Regions from separate parts of the Homo sapiens genome. Here all the other regions are linked to region 3. The links are contacts of gene promoters, found by promoter capture Hi-C in blood cells and fetal thymus (Javierre and others, 2016). All regions are on one chromosome and are shown on one strand. Each heading gives the region's core, a stretch centred on a gene start or on the middle of the fragment in contact. The rest is flanking DNA. Distances are from core to core; before and after follow the strand shown. Region 1 has its middle 15 kb from the start of LINC00683. Region 2 has its middle 39 kb from the start of LINC00908. Region 3 holds the start of ZNF516 (zinc finger protein 516). Region 4 overlaps ZNF516 (zinc finger protein 516).

Region 1 (3,152 bases), core at 563-3,062, 110 kb before region 3:
CACAGATGAAGCCTTCCATGTATCCTCACATGGCAGAAGGGACGAACAAGCTCCCTCAGGCCTCTTTTAGGGGGCTGCAATCCCATTAGCCAGGGCAGAGCCCTCATAAGCTAATCACCTCCCAAAGGTCCCACCTCGTAATACTATTGCATTGGAGATCAGGTTTCAACATGTGATTTTTGAGAGGACACACACATTCAGGCCATGTAACTTGGATAAAGATCTTAGATTCATTACAGTTCAATACAACTCTTCAGTTTTAATGGTTAGTGACATCATGGATGTAAGTAATAGGAAGCAGTTCAAGTAAAGTGGACAACAATTTTGATTTTGTTTTACTTTTATGTTGTTGTCTGTTTAAAGCAGAGCATTGTTTAGATTTTTAGTAATAGATAAAAGGAGAAAACAAGATGGCTAATTATAAACTCTTCTTAAGTTTTTTAGTCCCTTTAAGACAAGAATCTCCGAATCCTAATACTTCAGAAATGGTTACAGTAGGAATGGACGACAAGATGAATGGATGATTACAAGGATAATGAATGAATGGATGGATAGGAGAATAGATGAATGGATGGATGGACGGATAGAATAGATGGATTGATAGAGTAATAGATTGATGAATGATAAATAGAAGAATGGATGGATGGATGAGTGAATGGATAGAAGGTGGAATGGATGGATGGATGGATGGACTAGATTGATGGATAGATTAATAGAAGAATGGATGGATGGATGGATGAATGTATAGTAGAATAGGTGAATGGGTGGATGGATAGAATAGATGGATCGATAGAGTAATAGATTGATGGATGATAAACAGAAGAATAGATGGATGGGTGGATGGATAGAAGGAGGGATGGATGGATGGATGAATGGATGGATAGACTAGACTGATGGATGGATTAATAGAAGAATAGATGGATGGATGAATGTATAGTAGAACAGGTGAATGGATGGATGGATAGAAGAATAGATAGACGGATCAAGGGATGGATGGATGGATGGATGGATGGATGGATGGATGGATTGATGGACGGATGACTGGAAGAATAGGTAGATGATGAAGGGCAGGAGGGAAGGCTGAACAGTGACAGATTAGAAGACAGTGAAACTCATATGACTTGTTTGACTTAGCGGCGTCTTTAAAATGGAACGGAAATTTACACTGAATCTAGTTATGAAAGTAGTGTTAATGTACTTAGCAATACTTCTTAAAGCATGACCTACACAGTACATAGGTTTAAAAAAGATATTGGGAAGCTTGTCGAAAATGCAGACTCCTAGGCTCCTCCTTAGATCTTCTAACTTTGAATCATTAAGGCGGGGTCCCAGGAATGCATGTTTTTACAAGCTCTCTATGCATCCCGAAGCTGAAAATTACTCACAGTGTTACAAAATCAAGGAAATAAGGCATCTTGTTTGTTATGTTTTTCAATTTCTATGCCTGTGGAATCACTAAGAGGAGAAAATAAGGGAAAAAGAAGTCTGTCAGTGGGGATGACACCATATAAACATGGAGTAAAAACAAACAAGACTCGGACCGGTTACCTGAGGATAGAGTGAACAAACCACTTCTACTACAGCACAGGGACTGTGCCTCTCAGCCTAAAGATACTTCTGTGCAATCATTTCAGGATTATATTAGTAATGTCTGACATCTCTATATGGGGTAATAGTGAATAATTTTATTAAATGATGCTTTCTTTGACATAAAATGCATCTTGGACATTTTAATACAATATGAATGGAAATTACACAGGAATATCACAGCCTGTCCCATCAGTAACACCATAACGTAGCTGGGAAGAGGGCAGTTAATTCTTATGTAGCAGGGCATGCATATCATACATGGGAAATGTATCTCAGTGCAAACGCCTCGGGGCTTAGCACATTTTGTGCATTTAAATAAAAAAAGGCATAGGTGTATGTTCAGTATAAATCACTGGAATTACAGTGTGACTTATGGACTCGGTGCATTTCCGAAATAGAGTCCCTGAAGCTAATGACTTTAATTTAACACCAGCCTGTGTGATTCAAGCTGTAGTTTAAATATTTATCCTGAAACATTCATGGATGCACAATACATGCATTAACTCTGGGTCATTCTCCATGAGACGAGCGCGGGGACAGGAATGCATTTATTAAACCCCCGTATCGGCATCGTTTTCATTTCCTTTCTTGCTGGATCTAAACGGCAGCTGGGTCCCACCCTGCTGAAATATCATGTCAATGGTGACAATATAGAGGGTCAGATATTATTTCATTATGTAATGTTGCTGGAGATCACAAGGCACGTATCCATTTTGAAAATGGGATGCTGCTTCTCAGAGCCTGTTATGAAACAGACTTCACACTGAAGCTTTTAAAAGATTAGAAGATAGGTGCATTGGAAGCAGAAGATATTCTATGCAGTATTCCAACCCAAACGCCCAACGCGCAGGGCAGTAAAAGACATTTCATCTCTCTGAATCTCTCAAGCTGTCCTCATATTTCAAATGCATAGTAATTTATTTGGGGGCAATTAACTGTGTCTGTTTCTCTGTTTGGAAAACAGCAGTAATACCTATTTCCAAGACCAGTTAATATTTACTGGGTGTAGCTGGCTGCTGCAACCGTATCCCTCGTCCATGCTAGTTGGTTGATACCCAGTGGATTGTTAAATATTTTTAGTATCACTCCTGCCTATCTCAAACTATTGTTTAAATCAAATGAAATCATGATCATCATCATTTATTGAACAGGCATTGTTCAATAAATTGGAAAACTTATAAACTAAGTCCTTCAATGATATTACCGTATCTAGTTAACCCAATTTTGGAGATAAGCAAATGGGACCCAGGAGCCCTCCTCCTGAGCAGGAGCATGGGCCAGAGCCTGGGATTGCCACCCCGGCACTCACGCTGTGCCTCCTCATGTCACCCACCACCTTTGAAGTCCTCAAAAATTTCCCGGCCCATAAGTTAGTTTTCTTCTTCGAATATCTAGGTCAAAGATATTCTCCATGTCTGGACACTCTCTTTAACTTTCTCTAACTCTGAATGGTTAGCACAAAAGGCCTGTCAGCCAGGCGTCATTCCTGTGACAATGGTTTGATTAGGATTTTTCCATTTGATGATGGTGTGAAAGTGGAACCTATTCAGCAGTCTCTACTT
Region 2 (2,994 bases), core at 171-2,670, 72 kb before region 3:
TTCCCCTTGCAAGATGAGTTGCAACAAGCCCCTGGTACAAACAGCTCTGGTGCAAATCCACAGGAAAGACTGCAGCCGCAAGCCTGCCATGAAGATGGCCCTGTTCAGAGTATGGGAGAGTCACACAGCTTTCCAGCCAAGGAAGGGCTCCAACCTTGGAGAGAACATTCTGGAATGTAGTTTGTTAGGAACAAACCATCTCCTTTCCATGCCTCCCACTCCCCTCCTCATTTGAAAAAGACAGTCATGCGCAGGCAAATACTACTGAACTTTATACTCTGCCAACCAAGAAAGAAAAGTGCTTCACCTATGTATCAATTCCACGAGGTCCGATACTTTTGATATTTCAAATTCAAGCGCAGTGCTTGGAGCCCATGCTAGGTGGAAATTCAGAATGCACTGTGAACCTTATCCTGGGCTCCGGCCCCTGCAATGCAGTTCTTATCCTGTGGGTTGGCCCACCAGTCCCCCAAGAGCTGCATTCAGCGGAGTGAGTGTTTTTCCCTTTTTCAAAGCTCCCAGCCCTAGGAAAGACAGCAGCCACCTTCCCTTCCACTGAGACCCCAGCCACCCCTCTGCACATCCTGGCTAGGTGGTAGACACGTGTCTCTCATCTGCAGGGTGAGATCTGCTCAGGCAGGGGGACCCTCACAGCAAGGATGCTCGAGCCCAGCGCAGTGTGGGGTGCATTGTGGGTTCATCCAGTGGGCTGTCACCACGGGTGCCCCAAGAACTGCATCAAGGGGCCCTTTTAGCTCTGAGGTGGACCTGGGGGCAGGACGGCAGTGTGGTTTTAGAGTCATAATAATATCCACCTTCACGCATCGCTGCCCTGATCCAAGGATCATAGGCCAAACGGTAGGGCATCTGCAGGGGGTGTGTTACTGTCTGTTCCCGACCTGAGTGGCCTCTGCCCCATGTTCTGGAGCTCCTCCCAGGCGAGCCAGGCGCAGAGCACACCTTGGCAGTCATTGCAGGCTGGATGATTTCCCCAATATCTGTGCGTGTGGCCTTCTGTGGAAATAGCATCTTTGCAGATGATCAAGTTAAGATGCGGTCAATAGGGTGGGCCCTAATCCAATATGACTGTGTCCTTATGGAAAGGGAAAATGTGGCTACGGGGACAGACATGCGCATAGGAGGAAGGCCCTGTGAAGATGAAGGCAGGGACCAGGGGATGCTTCCTCACACAAAGGAATGCCCAAGAGTGCCAGCAGCCACCAGAAACTAGGAGAGGCACCTGGAAAGATTCTCCCACCCTGCCCTCGGGAGGAACCCACCTTCGGTCCTTGATCTTGGACCTCTCCTCCCTAGACCTGTGGGGGAATAAATTCCTCTTGTTTAGGACTCGCGCTCTGTGATGCTCTGTTGTGGCAGAGTCTAGGGAAACCAACACAGAAGTGGAAGCTGACCTTCCACCTCTCTATGCACACGGGCGACCTGAGCCGACTGCTGGGCCCTCAGGGGCAAGTGCTGTCCTGTCCACCTCCAGTGAGTACTGCCCAGGGCCACATCCCAAGATGGGCCACAGAAGAGTCACTAGCTGTCTCTCCACCTGCCAGTCATAAAGGTAAGGAGGGGAGGGGAGGGTCAGAGAATGCACCACACCGTCAGGGAGAGAGAGAGACAGAGAGAGAGAGAGACAGAAGGAGAAAGAGACAGAGAAAGAGACAGACGTGGGGGTGGGGAGAGAGACAGAGAGAGGGAGAGAGACAAAGAGATTGGGAGAGACAGAGACAGAAAGAGACAGAGACAGAGACAGTGAGAGAGAGACAGAGAGAAGGAGAGAGAGACAAAGAAAGAGAGACAGAGAGACGGGGGAATGGGGGAGAGAGACAGAAAGAGGGAGAAAGACAGAAAGACAGAAACAAAGAGAAAGACAACGAGAAGCAGAAAGAGGAAGACAGAGAGAGGCATAGAGAGAGAGACAGAGCGAAACAGAGACAAAGAGATACAGAGAGAGAGACAGAGAGAGAGAGACAGGTAGGGGAAGGGAAGAGGGAGGGCTCCTCCTGGTCCCGGTGGCCAATGTGAAGGCCAGAGGGAAGCAGGGAGCCCTCCTGGGCAGCTCCTCAGGAAATAAGGGGAGAGGACAGCCTCTTTCAACAGATGGACCAGTCTTTGGGAGACAAGCTCTCCCCATGGGATGCCATCTCTCTTCTCCACCCTGTGTCTTATGAACGTGGCCTTGGTGCAGGGCCTCCCTCTTCAGACCCAGCAGAAGTGGCATTGCATGCACACCAGTTTGAGTGGCATAGTTAAGTCCCAGTTGACCGAAGTCCCAACCTACACTTAGACTTTCTCAGACCAGTGGCCACCTCCTCCGAAGTCCCCCAGAGAAAGAAACCCCTGCCTTCTGTGCTGGCTTTTAGGAACTCCCAGGATTACCCAGCACTCTCCCCGTCCTCCGGAGAGGTGGGATCCGAGGAAAGGGCGAGCCCAGACACAGCGCCACGTCAGAAAGTCCCGTCATGGCAGGGCGCGGGGGCTCACGCCTGTCATCCCAGCACTTTGGGAGGCCGAGGCGGGCGGATCACAAGGTCAAGAGATTGAGGCCATCCTGGCCAACATGGTGAAACCCCGTCTCTACTAAAAATACAAAAAATTAGCCGGGCCTGGTGGTGGACGCCTGTAGTCCCAGCTACTCGGGAGGCTGAGGCAGGAGAATCACTTGAACCCGGGAGGCGGAGCTTGCAGTGAGCCGAGATCGCGCCACTGCACTCCAGCCTGGGTGACAGAGTGAGACTCTGTCTCAAAAAAACAAACAACAACAACAACAACAACAACAAATCTTTATCTCCCTACTATTCCTAGCTAGAATTGCTCCCTGAATTCCACGGTGTCCAAGCCTAGGGGGCATGTTTCTGTAATGCTCCTGTGGCAATGGATACACAAGTCCCTCTCTGGGCTTGGGCCCTTATTCAGGGTTTGGAATGGATTCTTGTGTAAGATCCAGCCTGATTGCACGGTGCAAGCCACCATCTGGAACAGCGG
Region 3 (3,441 bases), core at 356-2,855:
CATTTTCACAGTGTACTGAAATGAATGGTGGGCACGTCAATACTTTTCGGTGAATCAGACTTAAACGTGATTGCTGAAGAATACATCCCACTTAGGCATTCATGCTGAAGCCAGCAACAATTGTCCGTGACCTTTAACATGCCCGCTCTCCAAATCAGTGCAGGTCGTTAGTCACACGGAGCTTACATTTGAGGACTCGCGGATCCTTCATAGCGGAGGTTGTCCCTGTCTTTCTGCCTGACTCCCCCCCGCCCCCCGACCCCGACACACACTCCCCACCGCCCCCAGAAACATCACACATGCAGAATGCCCCCCCCGTCTGATCGCCAGCTTTCGGGCACATGCGCCTCCCTTTGCAGCGCGTCTGGAGTAGTTTCTTTTGTAAACGCCCTAAGTTGGGGAGGGCCGCGGGCTGCGAGTGTGAGGCGCAGAGAGAGACGCCGCCGCTGAGGTAACCGCCAGGATTGCAGCGCTGATTGCTACGCGGAGCCACGTTGGGCGTCTTGGACGGAATCCACCTCCACTGCGGAGTTATCACGAGGAGAAGGAGAACAATACGGCCAGGAGCCTGGTGGGAGAAGATAGTGTTACCCCTCCGCAGGCCGCAGCTCCCCGGGTCTACGTCACCGGCCGTGAAGGGGCGCTCGCCCTCGCTAGCTCCGACCCGCCCCTCCCCCGCCCCCGCGCGCCCGCCCTCCCCTCCCCCACCCCGGCCATCCCTGCCCTGTAACAGGAGAGCGTTTTGGAGTCAAATTAGGATTTCTAGTCCCAGACTCAACTTATTACAACTAACTACTGCTCGTGGGGAGTAGGTGAGGTGAAGAAATGAAGTTTTAAGAACAGAAAAATAAGAGTTGAACTTTCGAGGCTACCGGTAAACAACCCCTTCATTTTTAAATGGCCGGGTGGCAGAGCCGCTGTTTGAAGTCTTTCCAGCGGGACCTCTGTGACCCTTGATTCAGGACTTAATGTATTGATCCTGCATCTGAACACCCCCAGAGGCATTTACCAGGAAGTTGAGTGACACGCACACGCTACGCCGTGTGTAATGCACACGCACCTGGGACCCCCGAAGGGGTGTCCCCATTTCAGTCCAGATGGGGCGCAGTGCCCAGGTACCCGCCGGCGGGACCCGCATCCCGAGCACGTCTGTACGTATGGATGCGCGTGTGCGCGCGGAAACGGCCTCCGGGAGCCGGGGCTGCAGCAGCCTTAGACCTTGACGAGGGGCGACCACTGGCCGCTGGAACCGTGATTCAGTGCTATTAGGGGAGGAATTGGCTGTGTCTGAGTCACTGCAAGCCTCCAGACTGTCCCCTCAGTGTGGCAGAACTTTGTGCTGATGAGACAATAGTGGAGTGTGCGTTTCCTACAGGGCAGACCATTTCCAGGCTGGGGGAAGCCTCCGGCCTGCGCCGGGCCGTGAGCGCCCGGCCCCCTCCCCGTGCCGCGCAGCCCCCCGAGCCCGGCTCGCGCCGGGGCCCCCGCGGGGCGGACGCGTCCGGGGCGCGCGCGGGCGGCGCGAGGAGGGGGCCGGGCGCGTGGCGGGCCCCGCGCGCCCTCGCGCGTCCCCCGCGCCCGGGCGCAGCTGGCGCGGTCGGTCTAGTGCAGCGCTCGGCTCCGCGCCGCGGGCGCTCGGCTTCACCTTCAGATGCGCGGGGCGTGCGCGTCCTCCTCCCCAGGCCCGCCGCCTCCCTGCCAAGGTAGGGGCCGCGGGCGGGGGGAGGGCTGCGCCGCAGGGGCCGCGGGCGGGCGGTGGGCGCGGGGCCCGGAGCCCCGACGTGCCCCGTACTCTGGTGTGCGCCGCTGGGGGTAGGGGGGGAGGCGCTGGGGAGGGGGGTGCGCCGGGGAGGGGCCCCCCGGGCGCGGGGAGGGCTACTTGGCTTTCCCGGTGGGTAGTTGCTCTGCTCGTCAATTCCAGGATAGGGGAAGATGCAACTTCGGGCGGCGGGGCGAGCGCCCGGGAGGTGGTTTTTACCGCAGTGGAGGGGCGGGGTGGGGGCCGGGGTGGGAGCGCGGAAGAGGCTCTGGCTTTGTACACTTTGTCAAAGGCGACGCGGGAGGAGGGGAGCTCGGATGCGCTCTCCATCCATTAGGAGACAAAGAGCAAATTGCCTTACTTTAAAGTAAAACGCTCCGGCTAATGAAGGTGGGTGATGGGGCTGCGGGCCCGAGGAGCCGCTTCAATTATTAAGGGTTTGGCGGATGGGATCGATGCCTGTGGGCACCGCGCGCTGCTGCCTAGGGGACGTGTTTGCGTGGAGGTGGGGGTGGCCTTGTTTTTTACGGCCCCCTCCCCGGCTGCTTGCCAGTCTGCTGGGAGCTTCTAAGTGACCCTAACGTTAAAGAAGTGAGAGGTCCTGGAAGGGAAGTTCGGGCGGGGGTGGGGGTGGGGGCGAGGGTCTGGCACCGACTCGGAGAGGGGTGGGCAGGGACTCCTCGGAGCTGCGCCCCGCCGGGTGCGGGTGGGGGAGGCCTCGGTGGCGAGATGAACCCGGGTGTATGAAGGAAGAATGCGGTGGGGTGTGTGTGGTTGGGCGGGAGGTGGGGGGAGGCGCCTCCGCTGCCATTTCCAGGGAGAACTAACAGACTGAATAGTTACGATCAGTATTTAGATTAAACCGCCTCAAGTTTTAACGAAACTTTGTATGAATAAGTTTGTTAAATGGCAGCCGAGTGGGGTATTTAAAAGCAGCAGTTTATGTGTGTGGTGAGGAAAGCCAGTGGACCCCCGCAATTAGGGACCAGAGGGAACCAGCCTTTTACCCGAAAAATGTGGGTCTGTAAGTCAGCCTCATCTATTATCAGCGTTAATAAGCTTCCCGCAGCAGACCGGGAGCTCTGGGGGCTGTGTGTGTGTCTTACTCATTCCGCTGATAAAGAGTCACCGGGTCTCCGGGTGTGCAAAGATCAACTTGCGCAGCCCTCTTTTTAAATATATTCATTCTGTGCTTTATTTAATCCAGATGCACAAAAAGCCATTTGCTGCTGCATTGTTGGTTTACATTTTTTGAAAAGGCGACTGGTGTAACCTGTGGAATTTGAAATGCAAATAAGAGCCTGTGGGAGTAGAGGCAGAACAGATCAGCATTTATAAAGTGGAAAAGATTTAATGTCTTTGAAATCATTGCAGGGGAAGAAACTGGAGGGGGAGTGTGATTTTTCAGGGAGTGAATTGTGACGTCAGGTCTTTTTGGAAAAGATGTTATTTTTAAGGTCTGAAACCCGGCTAGGTAAAGTGCTTACAGGAAAAACAGATTACAAGATTAACATCTGTTAACATGATCGTTTATCTCCAGCCAAAAATAGGTCAGTTCTTTCTTAAGGAAACACGATTGCTGGCGCATGCTTAAATAATAAAATCAAAACGGCGAGTTCATAAATTAGGAACGAGTGTTTGTTACAATCTGACCTGTGAAGAAACGTTTTTGAATTTCGAGA
Region 4 (3,287 bases), core at 52-2,551, 72 kb after region 3:
GCCTTTTTACCTGTGTGTGTTTCGGGGGAGCCTTTTCACCTGCATGTGTTTCGGGGGAGCCTTTTCACCTGCATGTGTGTTTCAGGAGGGAGCCTTTTCACGTGCGTGTGTTTCGGGGGAACCTTTTCACCTGAGTGTGTGTTTCGGGGGAGCCTTTTCACCTGCATGTGTTTCATGGGGTAACCTTTTCACCTGCGTGTGTTTCATGGGGGAAACTTTTCACCTGCGTGTGTTTCGGGGGAGCCTTTTCACCTGCGTGTGTATGTTTCAGGAGGGAGCCTTTTCACCTGCGTGTGTTTCGGGGGGGACCCTTTCACCTGCGTGTGGGTGTTTCAGGGGTGAAGCCTTTTTACCTGTGTGTGTTTCGGGGGAGCCTTTTCACCTGCGTGTGTTTCGGGGGAGCCTTTTCACCTGCATGTGTGTTTCAGGAGGGAGCCTTTTCACCTGCGTGTGTTTCGGGGGAACCTTTTCACCTGCGTGTGTGTTTTGGGGGAGCCTTTTCACCTGCATGTGTTTCATGGGGGAACCTTTTCACCTGCGTGTGTTTCATGGGGGAACCTTTTCACCTGCGTGTGTTTCGGGGGAGCCTTTTCACCTGCGTGTGTATGTTTCAGGAGGGAGCCTTTTCACCTGCGTGTGTTTCGGGGGAGCCTTTTCACCTGCGTGTGTATGTTTCAGGAGGGAGCCTTTTCACCTGCGTGTGTTTCGGGGGGACCCTTTCACCTGCGTGTGGGTGTTTCAGGGGTGAAGCCTTTTTACCTGTGTGTGTTTCGGGGGAGCCTTTTCACCTGCGTGTGTTTCGGGGAAGCCTTTTCACCTGCGTGTGTTTCGGGGGAACCTTTTCACTGGCATGTGTGTGTTTCAGGGGGGAACCTTTTCGCCTGCATGTGTGTGTTTCAGGAGGAACCTTTTCACCTGCGTGTGTTTCAGGGATGAGCCTTATCTCCTGCCAGCATATGTTTTGTCACGTCTTGTTGCTTAAATGGTGTTTGAGGCAAGGTACTGTCAGTTCACATTGCGGACTTATTAACGAGAACACGCAAGAAGGGCTTTGTGTTGTTTCTCTCCACACAGGAACTTCATGAACCCTAGCATTTGATCTGTGCAGCTTTTCCTTTCCTAGCTTGTAAAACTTGTGGCTGTTTTCCTTTTGGGAACATATATGCATCCCTTCCCTTGTAAAGAATGCGTGTAAATTGTGTTGTGGACATCCGTTTTAATGGGTCTCTGTTAGATTGTGCTGCCAGCTGCAGAGTGCTTGAATCCTGGGGTCTCCGAGTGTTCCAGGTGAGAGTCCTGCGGTGTGCACAGCCCAGGGTCTCCATGCAAACTCCAGGTGGCCAGACGCATTAAGATTTAGAGTTGCGGAGCTCAGTGTGATATTGAGAGTACATCTTGTCTTCCTTTATCAGGTAAAAATGAACCGGTGACAGAAATAAATTATCTTTGCTTTTCTTAAGGATTTGTATGGAGGAGAATTAATTTAGGTGGTTTTTCTTATCTATTCCAGTTTGTCATTGTTTACGATTGGAGATTTCTTTCTAACCTGTTCTGCCCACAATATATGCAGTTTCTGCTTGTCCTATCCTCCAGATATATGGAATTCATATCTTCTCCTCCCATGCCTCCCCAGTGCCCCATGTCTGCCCCCCATCATCCCGTCCCTGCTTCTTGCCCCTTGGCTGGAGCCCTCCATTTATTTGCTCTGTGCTAGGGTATGTCTGCTTCATAACCCCTTTCTGTTTAAGTGGTGGTTTCTGGGTATCTTTTAATTCTCTATCTCTCCATAAATACAGAGTCCTACTTCTCTTATAGCCTTAGAACTGCCTCATAATTAGTCGATTTAATTCTGAGGTTGTGCTTGTTGTTTTAACTGTCTTTTGACCTATATTTCTGAATCCTACATTTAGCTTCCGGAAAGTTAGGGCAGTCACGTGTTTGCAGGTGCAGCTCTGCTCCATAGCCTGAGTGTATGAGTACATGGTCATCATCCGTCAGGCCCCTGGAGACCGTGGTCTGCTTCTTACTGCCGCAGTGCAGGGAGTGCCGAGGGACCGGCCCGCTCTCCGCAGGCTCTTCTGCGTGGCTGTGGCAGGAGCTGTCTCCTGGTTTGCTGGGTCAGGGCCCTTTCCAGGAACAGTTTACTGTGTCTTATTTAGTGCTTGTCCTCCACATCTCTAGCTGATGGTAGTGTCTTCCTGAATTCTAGGCAACTCTACCAAATTCCAATTGGGTGATACTAGCATAGATACCCTGGCTGAATTTTTCTGGGATTTACCTTCACTTGCTCATGTAGCCATGGAGATATTTAAAATAACGATAATACTCACTGGTAGTCTGGTGCATTATTTAATTTCTAAGATTAAAAACAAAAAACAAAACAAAACAAAACACTTGCCTTAAAATGGCCAGAGTCATACAGTTTGATCCATGTGTGAGGCAGAGAAATTCCTGATGACTTGGGCACCAGACCCGGCCCGCTGTGTGATTCAGATCTGTGGAAACTTTTTCAGAAACTTGTCTTTGCTTTGAAAATACTTATGTTGTGGCACTTTGTACACTTTCTTACTGTAGGTAAAATCAAAGAAATGTGAGGTGTTGGCAAAACATAGGTGATACTTAGTGTAAAGTAGTGCCCTCTGTAATAGTGAAACATGAGGTTTATTTTGGGATGTTGTTCACCCATAGGACCTGCTCCCTGTGGCTTGGATGTTTTGAAAAGACTCCAGGAACTTAGTGTGGAATTCTTATGCCCCATTTCCCCTTCAAGCAAACCCTTGAGTTGTCTAGCAGGTTCTGTGGAGAGCAGGGGGAGGGACCCGGTGGCAGCTTTGCAAACACAGAACTCACGGGGGCTCAGCCCGGGCTCTGCTTTCCAGCTCTGAGACAAAGTCTGGCCTCACGGACTGGACCAGGATACCAGTTAGGACGTGGGACTTGTTCCTTAAAGCTCGAAGCCCTGGAGCAACTGCCAGCACAGCGTCTCCATCACCTAAGGCCTAGCCCGCCATACCTCTGGCAGCCAGGACAGCAGCCTCGGAGCCTCAGCTGCCCTGCTCCTCTTGGGAGGTTTATGACTTCTGAACTTGACTTCACACCCTGTCTCTAGAGCCCTTTTCCAATATGCACCAGCCTAAACGCAGAATGACTTCCTAAGTGTAATTCATCTTGCTTTGTAAACGTGTCAGTAGTTGACCCTGAACATACATATTGTGCATAAGAGTGGTGTTTGGGATGCATGTTGATCTTTGAGCAGGAGGCGCACACTGCATTCTAGGGCAGGAGCT

Evidence for each region. The method cuts DNA at HindIII sites, captures the fragments that hold promoters and counts their contacts. A CHiCAGO score of 5 or more calls a contact.
Region 1: a fragment that was not itself captured here is called in contact with the fragment with the promoter of ZNF516 in region 3 in 3 of 17 cell types (monocytes, neutrophils and M0 macrophages); the score reaches 11.1 in monocytes.
Region 2: a fragment that was not itself captured here is called in contact with the fragment with the promoter of ZNF516 in region 3 in 5 of 17 cell types (monocytes, M0 macrophages, neutrophils and 2 more); the score reaches 20.3 in monocytes.
Region 4: a contact is called between a fragment that was not itself captured here and the fragment with the promoter of ZNF516 in region 3, in 2 of 17 cell types (neutrophils and monocytes). The highest score is 5.8, in neutrophils.

Annotation. Positions count from the first base shown.
Region 1 is chr18:76,603,246-76,606,397 of GRCh38, reverse strand. No RefSeq gene overlaps it. Among named protein-coding and RNA genes, the nearest start is that of LINC00683, 15 kb to the left of the region's middle. The HindIII fragment of the contact is 1,099 bases long and covers 1,263-2,361 here.
Region 2 is chr18:76,565,960-76,568,953 of GRCh38, reverse strand. No RefSeq gene overlaps it. Among named protein-coding and RNA genes, the nearest start is that of LINC00908, 39 kb to the right of the region's middle. The HindIII fragment of the contact is 5,091 bases long and covers 1-2,994 here.
Region 3 is chr18:76,493,406-76,496,846 of GRCh38, reverse strand. It overlaps ZNF516 (zinc finger protein 516), which reads left to right and starts at 1,605. Exons shown (of 7, transcript NM_014643.4): 1 at 1,605-1,703. It overlaps ZNF516-DT (ZNF516 divergent transcript), which reads right to left and starts at 1,508. Exons shown (of 2, transcript NR_164145.1): 1 at 1,061-1,508; 2 at 1-568. ZNF516-AS1 (ZNF516 antisense RNA 1) reads right to left here. Exons shown (of 2, transcript NR_136504.1): 2 at 2,929-3,441. RefSeq lists silencers at 1,496-1,555, 1,686-1,785, 2,486-2,575. The HindIII fragment of the contact is 7,170 bases long and covers 1-2,820 here.
Region 4 is chr18:76,421,060-76,424,346 of GRCh38, reverse strand. The region is part of intron 3 of ZNF516 (zinc finger protein 516); the gene reads left to right. Among named protein-coding and RNA genes, the nearest start is that of ZNF516-AS1, 69 kb to the left of the region's middle. RefSeq lists an enhancer at 601-1,102. The HindIII fragment of the contact is 5,680 bases long and covers 1-3,287 here.